Regions from separate parts of the Homo sapiens genome. Here region 1 is linked to region 2. The links are contacts of gene promoters, found by promoter capture Hi-C in blood cells and fetal thymus (Javierre and others, 2016). All regions are on one chromosome and are shown on one strand. The core of a region is centred on a gene start or on the middle of the fragment in contact, and the rest is flanking DNA. Distances in the headings are between cores, read along the strand shown. Region 1 has its middle 42 kb from the start of GCM1. Region 2 holds the start of KLHL31 (kelch like family member 31).

Region 1 (3,971 bases), core at 1,115-3,614, 480 kb after region 2:
CGAGAGACAGGACAAGCAGTAACACAGGGGTTTTGGCAAAGAATCGGACTGTATTGATCTAAGTAAATGAATGAATACATTAGTGTTTTTGCTGCCAGCAATCTGGTAAGAACTCTTAAACACATCCAGCAAGGGTTAAGTAGGAAACAATGGTGTTCCCTTGCCAACATCCACTGCAGTGTGTGGAGAATTATTTTCAAATTTCTATTTTGGATGCAGGCAGGAAAGGGGACAAGGTTTGAAAAATTATGCTCACTACTTGGGTGATGGGATCATCCGTATCCCAATCCTCAGCATCACACAATATACCCATGTAACAAATCTACATGTATCCCCTGTATCTAAAATAAGAGTTAAAAAAAAATTTAAATTCCGTTTTGGCAAATGCATTTCCTTTCCTATCTCACTAGACTGGAGCCTCTGACCCTCTCAGGACACCCCTCAGGCAGGGGAGTTTCCTCATCACAACCTGTTTGTTTCATCCTGAATTACAGCCCTAAATCCTTTGCTGAGTTGCCATTTTCATTAAATCAAAGTATACTTGTTAGAGACTTAAAGTTGATTAAATAGCAAAATAAACCACTTATCTTCCTATACATCTTCAACTCCCAGAGCTAGTTGTGACAAGGGTTTTGGTGGCCACCAAGAAACCACACTATAAGAATTTTAGAAGAGAGTTACTTTCATTTCATATTTAAATTATTATTATTATTATTTTTTTTTTTTTTTTTTTTTTTTTTTTTTTTTTTGAGACGGAGTTTCACTCTTGTTGCCCAGGCTGGAGTGCAGTGGCGCGATCTCGGCTCATTGCAACCTCCACCTCCCAGGTTCAACTGATTCTCCTACCTCAGCCTCCCAAGTAGCAGGGGTTATAGGCATGCGCCACCATGCCTGGCTAATTTTTTTTGTATTTTTAGTAGAGACAGGGTTTCACCATGTTAGTCAGGCTGGTCTCAAACTCCTAACATCAGGTGATCCACCCACCTCGACCTCCCAGAATCCTGGGATTACAGGCGTGAGCCACCGCGCCCAGCCAAATTGTTTATTTTTAAAAATGTTTGAATGTGTAATTCATTCCTATGTCTAAAAAAACTAAGAGAAAATTACAGAGTGAAGTTTCTTTCTACACTTGTCCCCCATCTACCCAGCATTCCCTTCCTAAAACAAGTTTCTTTTTTATTCTTCCAAGGATTTTAATGCATATGAATATCAATATTTATTTACCGAAGTATATACACCTAGAGGCCAGGTGCAGTGGCTCACGCCTGTAATCCCAGCACTTTGGGAGGCTGAGGGCAGGAGTTTGAGACCAGCCTGGCCAACATGGCAAAACCCCGTCTCTACTAAAAATACAAAAAAAAATTAGCTGGGCATGGTGGTGGCAGGCGCCTGTAATCCCAGCTACTCAGGAGGCTGAGGTGGGAGAATTGCTTGAACCCAGGAGGCAGAGGTTGCAGTGAGCTGAGATGGTGCCATTGCACTCCAGCCTGGCCGACGAGCGAAACTCCTTCTCAAAAAAAAAAAAGAAAAAGAAAGCTTTACCAGATTCTTTTCTCTCTCTTTCTCCCATTTTTTTAACTTTTATTTTAGGTTTATGGTACATGTGCAGGTTTGTTAAATAGGTAAATTGTGTGTCACAGGGGTTTGGTGTACAGAAAATTTTGTCCCCAGGCAATGAACATAGTACCCAATAGGTATTTTTTCTGATCCCCTCTCTGCTCCCACCTTCCACCCTCAAGTATGCCCTAGCGCACCTGTTGTTCACCTCCCAGTGTCCATGTATTCTTGTGCGTAGCTCCCACTTATAACTGAGAACATGCAGTATTTAATATTCTGTTCCTGCATTAGTTTGCTTAGGATAATGGCCCTGGCTCTATCCATGTTGCTGTGAAAGACATGATCTTGTTCTTTTTTATGGCTGCATAGTATTCCATGGTATATATGTAATCACATTTTCTATTTTTTTTTTTTTTTTTTTTGAGACAGAGTCTCGCTCTATTGCCCAGGCTGGAGTATAGTGGCACCATCTCGGCTCACTGCAACTTCTGCCTTCTGGGTTCAGATGATTCTTGTGCCTCAGCCTCCCTAGTAGCTGCAACTACAGGCATGTTCCACCATGCCTGGCTAATTTTTTTTTTTTGAGACATATTTCACTCTTGTCGCCCAGGCCTGGGCAACAGAGCGAGACTCTGTCTCCAAAAAAAAAAAAAAAAGATAGAAAATGTGGTTACATATATACCATGGAATACTATGCAGCCAATAAAAAAGAACAAGATTGGCTGGGCACGGTGACTCACGCCTGTAATCCCAGCACTTTGGGAGGCTGAGGCAGGTGGATCACGAGGTCAGGAGATAGAGACCATCCTGGCTAACACAGTGAAACCCCGTCTCTACTAAAAATACAAAAAAAAAAATTAGCCGGGCGTGGTGATGGGCGCCTGCAGTCCCAGCTACTCTGGAGGCTAAGGCAGGAGAATGGCGTGAACCTGGGAGGCAGAGCTTGCAGTGAGCCGAGATCGTGCCACTGCACTCCAGCCTGGGCAATGGAGCCAGACTCCATCTCAAAAAAAAAAAAAGAACAAGATCGTTATTTTAAGCAAACTAATACAGGAACAGAAAATTAAATACTGCATGTTCTCAGTTATAAGTCAGAGCTACACATCAAGAACACATGGACACTAGGTGGTGAACAACAGGCGCTGGGGTGTACTTGAGGGTGGAAGGTGGGTGTCCATCTACTAGAAATATATAAAATATAATAATATACAATGTTATCAGAAGGTGATTTCAAGGGATTGGGAAGGATCCTGTGTGGCTTTGGCCAATATTGGCCATTTTGACCATTATTGTAGTTTACGTTAAAAATAACTAACATTTTCACAGAGCCTTAGAGTCTTAGAGTTATTGCATACTTATGTTATTCCACCTACATTAGTGGTGGAATGAGGCAGGAATGTATTATCATTTTTATTTTACAGATGAAATGCAAGGAGATTAAGTGACTTGTCCAAGAGCTAAGTAGTAAATGGGGTTGCCAGGAGTTGAATTCCAGTTGCCTGACTTGATGTCTAGCATAAAGGCAGCCAAGCAACTATATGATTTAGCTATGTAATGTAACCCTTTAGAGCCCACACCTTGCAAGCTCTGTGCCATAGCTTTTAGATTAGTTGCTTAAAACTGAAGCCAAGCTTTTCAGTGGCAATGATTTAAGTTGCTAAATATAATCATGACTCTCAAGAAAGTTATATTTTAACTTTGTATGATCTAGTTTTGTGTTTTTTTGTTGTTTTTTTTTTTGAGACGGAGTCTCCCTCTGTCGCCCAGGCTGGAGTGCAGTGGCATGATCTCGGCTCACCGCAACTTCCGCCTCCTGGGTTCAAGCAATTCTCCTGCCTCAGCCTCTTGAGTAGCTGGGATTACCGGCATGTGCCACCACGCCCGGCTAATTTTTTTTGTATTTTTAGTAGAGACGAGGTTTCACCATATTGGTCAGGCTGGTCTCAAACTCCTGACCTTGTGATCCACCCAACTCGGCCCCCCAAAGTGCTGGGATTACAGGCATGAGCCACCACGCCTGGCCCTAGTTGTCTAAAACTTTGAACAGGTCTTTAAAAAATATATTCTGTTGATCTACTGTGGATCAATATAAAGACATTTGCTAAGGATCAGATCCCATGTAATATCTTACACATTGGGTATAGATTAGGCTGGAACCTAGTTCTTAGATTCCTACTCAGTTATTTCACTAAATGAATACTTACTTAATTATACTTAGTGAATATTTTACTTAATTATGCTTACTAGGCAGAATAGTAGGAGATGTAGCTCTAACCTCTAGTGACATATTTTAATAAACAGATCACAGCCTGGGTAACAAAAGCAAGACCCTGTCTCTACAAAAAATATAAAAAATTAGCCGGGTGTGGTGGTGCATGCCTGTGGTCCTACTTGGGACCCTACGGTCCCAAGAG
Region 2 (4,010 bases), core at 724-3,223:
AAGTGTCTTAGATTTTCCATTTTTTGCCTTTTATTCTTCCACTTGTGTTCATATCTTAACATTATATTATATTGAAAGGAGCATCTCAGTGATGTTCCAGTAAAACTGGAATTAATAGTCTTGAACCCTTGAAGAAGATAATATTGGTACCAACATCTTCTTGAAGGCCCTTTCCATCATTATATCATCATTATCATAAATACTGATATAAGGCTGACTTTTATTACAATTAAAACGGGATTGAAGGCCAAGGCAGAAAGATCACTTGAGACCAGGAATTTGAGACCAGCTTGGACAACATACTGAGATCCTGTCTCTACAAAAAACAAACAAACAAACAAACAAAGATGGAAGGTTCTGACCCTTTACCTGAGTCAAGGAGGTGGGACCAAGTAGAATTTCTTAGAAGCAAACCATAATAGAAGCTTCTTTGATTTGCTCCTGGCGCTTTCTGTGCTGGAGATCTATGGGTAGAAGCAAAGAATTAAAAAAAAAATCCAAATAGTTTTTCCTACTAAAAAATTGGTGGGAATTCCAGCAGAAGTAGTCAATAGACAGATGCTATCCAGTGAATTGAGAGTCTCAGGTGAACTGGAGACTGGCACATATAGAATCAGAGCCTTAGAGTTGGAAAGATTTCAGAGATGATGCAGTGCAAGCCCCCAGCCATAGACAGAGTCCCTTCAATGTCACACCAGTCCTGCAACTTCTTTTACTTCCACCCTTCTAATTATAGAGAACTGGCTCTTTTACAAGGCTGCCATTTTCATCATTAGAGCCCAGCTGTTATCTGCACTCTTCTTCTTTATTTTAAGGTATTTCCCCGGAATTACTGCACATTAAAATTTTTGACATTTTAGGCTACAGAAATTTTGACTGAATCCTCTTGCTGTACAACAGCCCCCACAACACTTGCTCTCAGGTGTCTCACTTATCTTAAAAGTCCTCTCTTTGTCATACTTCTCTTCAGATGTTTCCAACATGCACCGCCTCTGAAGTTTTTTTGTTCCAGCCATCTCTGTAGGATGAAGAGTAAGTTCTCAGAGTGCCAAGATAGCAAAGTGATGCTTAACACATCATCTGACTAATGAAGAATAATTAGAACATTTATTTTCCATGATCTATTTTTCTATTATTGTAGCTTAATATCATGTTAACTTTTTAAGCAACCATTTCACACTCTTGGTGCCCATTAAAATTTGTAGTCAATTATAATCATTGAATTTTTTTTCTCATGAAGTGTTGCCAAAGTAGATATTTCCCAACCTGCATGTGTGCTAGAGTGTGTGTTAATCTCAGACCTCTCTGTGATCACTGGAAAATCGCTGGCCATAAACCTCACTTTATTAAACTCTAAAATGAGCCTAATAATGTTAGAACCACATGTGAGGTGCTGTAGAAAGTACCATATCTGGTAGATACGTGCTCCTCTTATAAAGAATAGGCTATTTATAACCACTATCTTCTCAAAAGACCGTAGGTGACCAGGCTAATTACCTTTCCAAAAACTAATTTTTAATCCACAGCCTTCCCTTCTCCTTACTCTACTAGAATCCCTGCTTCCAACAATTAAACATCCATCGAATTAATTTTCTTTCCTCTCACACAGGTTGATTGAGCTCTTGACTTTCTTTCTTTCTTTCTTTCTTTCTCTTTCTTTCTTTCCTTCCTTCCTTCCTTCCTTCCTTCCTTCCTTCCTTCCTTCCTTCTTTCTTTCTTTCTTTCTTTCTTTCTTTCTTTCTTTCTTTCCTTCTTTCTTTCTTTTCTTTTCTTTTCTTTTCTTTTTCATTTTGAGCAGCTGGTCAGTTCAAGAAACCCAACCCCTCTCCACCAACCGGAGCCCCGCCCCCTGCCCCCGGCTGGCTGGAGAGTTGAAGGCCAAAGACGGAGAGGAGGGCGCTCGCTGCTCTGCTCCCGGGCCAAAGCGCAGGCTCGGCCTGCCTTATCCAGTGGGACGGCAAAGGGTCACTCTAAAAATTGCTGCAGCCGGGTCTTGTCAGGTGGCTGCTGGTGGCTCCCCACCGGATTTTCCTTCTCCCTCTCTCTATCTCCACAGATCCCTTCCCAAGAGGAGTCTCCTGCTAAAACTTCATCATCTCAAGTTGACCTGCCACTTCACCCAAGGAGGGTAAGGAGCTGGGACCAGAGTCGCCAATTCCTGCCTTCTAGATCCTGGGGTGTGTGTGGATGTGTGGGTGGGAGAGGGTGGGCTGAGTGTTTGTGGTTGTAGAGCTATTTTACTGAAGGGAGTCTACAGCTGGGTCAGGTGGTTCATGTCCCTAATCTGAAGTTGGGAGACAGAAAACATTTTTTTGAAATCTGAGAAATGTAACGTGTTAGGAGAACTTCACGGTAACAAAATGCATGACAATGATGCCCTACAAATGTAAAACCACCTGTAATTTCTAACAAAAATTCTAAATCTCTAAAGCTTAAGATATATTTTTCTTTCACTACTTTATAGAGAAGGAGAAGGAGAGAAAATTCTTAGGCTTTGTTCACAAAGTTTAGAATTCTACCTTTATTTTTATCAAGAATCATTTTAACATTTGTTACTGATCAGTTTGGATGAAATGTTACCAGTTTTAACTAAATCTGTAGCACAAAACTCAGACAACTCTGAATTCCCAGAAATATAACCTATTGATGAAATGGAAATATCCTTCCTAAAAAAAAAAAAAAATTTGTTATTTGGCTAAAAAATAGGTTTTTGTCTTAAATGTGCACATATCATTATGCTGACATATATTTTATATTAAAAATCATGTTGGAAGTGTAATGGTGAAGTGGAAACCACCCCCCTACACCCCACCCCGAGGTTGGACTTAAAATGGCAAGCCACAGAAGCCAGGAGGGTTTCTATTCCTGGAGGTAGGGCTGATGAGCCCCGACAGATGCAGCGATAGGAATGTGGCCAGGACAGGGAGCAGGCGCAGCTGATTCGCCCCTTTGGCAAAAAGACATTCTGGGATCCCAGTTCATACTGGCATGAGAGTGACAGTGACACTTTAGCACACATGGCTTTCCAGTTTACCCTGTTGTGGACTCCCAGGAAGCATGGGTGCAGGGCAGTGGGAAGGAAAATGTTCTCAAATATGAAGTAACAACTCTTTTCTATAACCAGTTCTGGGGGTCTTCATCTGGGATCAGCTGGGGCCAGGAAGAATTTAAGTGCAATACTTTCACATGGACTTGCCCACTTACAGACAAGGGTCCAATTATGTACCATTGCTTGGCAGCATTATTCTCAGTCCAGTCATTTTGGATCTATTTCGGGTTATGGATCTCATGAAAACGCTGAGCCCAGTGTGTGGAAAGTACACATAAACATATGCACACAGTATGTTTCAGACTATTCCGCAGGACTCATGGACTCACCTGATACCCAGCCCTGATCAGGAATGCCAGATACAAGTCAGGTCATCCAGCTACATTTGAATTTCAGGTAAGCTACAAATCAACTTTTAGCATAAGTATGTCCTCAACACTGCCTGGGACATACTTATACTAAAGTATGATTCATAGTTTATCTGAAATGCAAATGCAACTTGACATCTTGTATTTTTATTTGCTAAATCTAGCTGTTCAGACCCAGACATATAGATCCCATGTAAAGAAACCTTGTCTCAGTTCGTTCATCCCTATCTGATAATGAGTAGATTCTAAAGATATGGAAGGCCATATTACAGGGAGATTTAATGTAGGAACAGATTTTGACAATTCTGACAGCAAAAGTCAGCTGTGTATTCATAACTGTCTGCAAAATTATAGAAGCAAAAGTAATGCATCTCCTTGTTTGACAGTTGATTATACTGAAATCCTGATAGGTTGGACGTTCTGCTATAGGTCTATCAAGTGGTTAGAGCAGAATGAACACCGAAACCCAATTTTCAGTTCTATGATAATCAAAAAGGCATCAGTCTTAAAACTCAATTTCTAACCTCCTCTCCCTCCAACACACAAAATACTAGGAAAGAAAAAGAGCCAGTTTACTAAAGTTTTCAACAAAA

Evidence for each region. Contacts are between HindIII fragments. The CHiCAGO score rates a contact against its expected background, and 5 or more counts as called.
Region 1: a fragment that was not itself captured here is called in contact with the fragment with the promoter of KLHL31 in region 2 in 1 of 17 cell types (activated CD4 T cells); the score reaches 5.2 in activated CD4 T cells.

What each region holds. Positions count from the first base shown.
Region 1 is chr6:53,188,869-53,192,839 of GRCh38, reverse strand. No RefSeq gene overlaps it. Among named protein-coding and RNA genes, the nearest start is that of GCM1, 42 kb to the right of the region's middle. The HindIII fragment of the contact is 1,652 bases long and covers 1,539-3,190 here.
Region 2 is chr6:53,663,719-53,667,728 of GRCh38, reverse strand. It overlaps KLHL31 (kelch like family member 31), which reads left to right and starts at 1,973. Exons shown (of 3, transcript NM_001003760.5): 1 at 1,973-2,128. The HindIII fragment of the contact is 2,006 bases long and covers 428-2,433 here.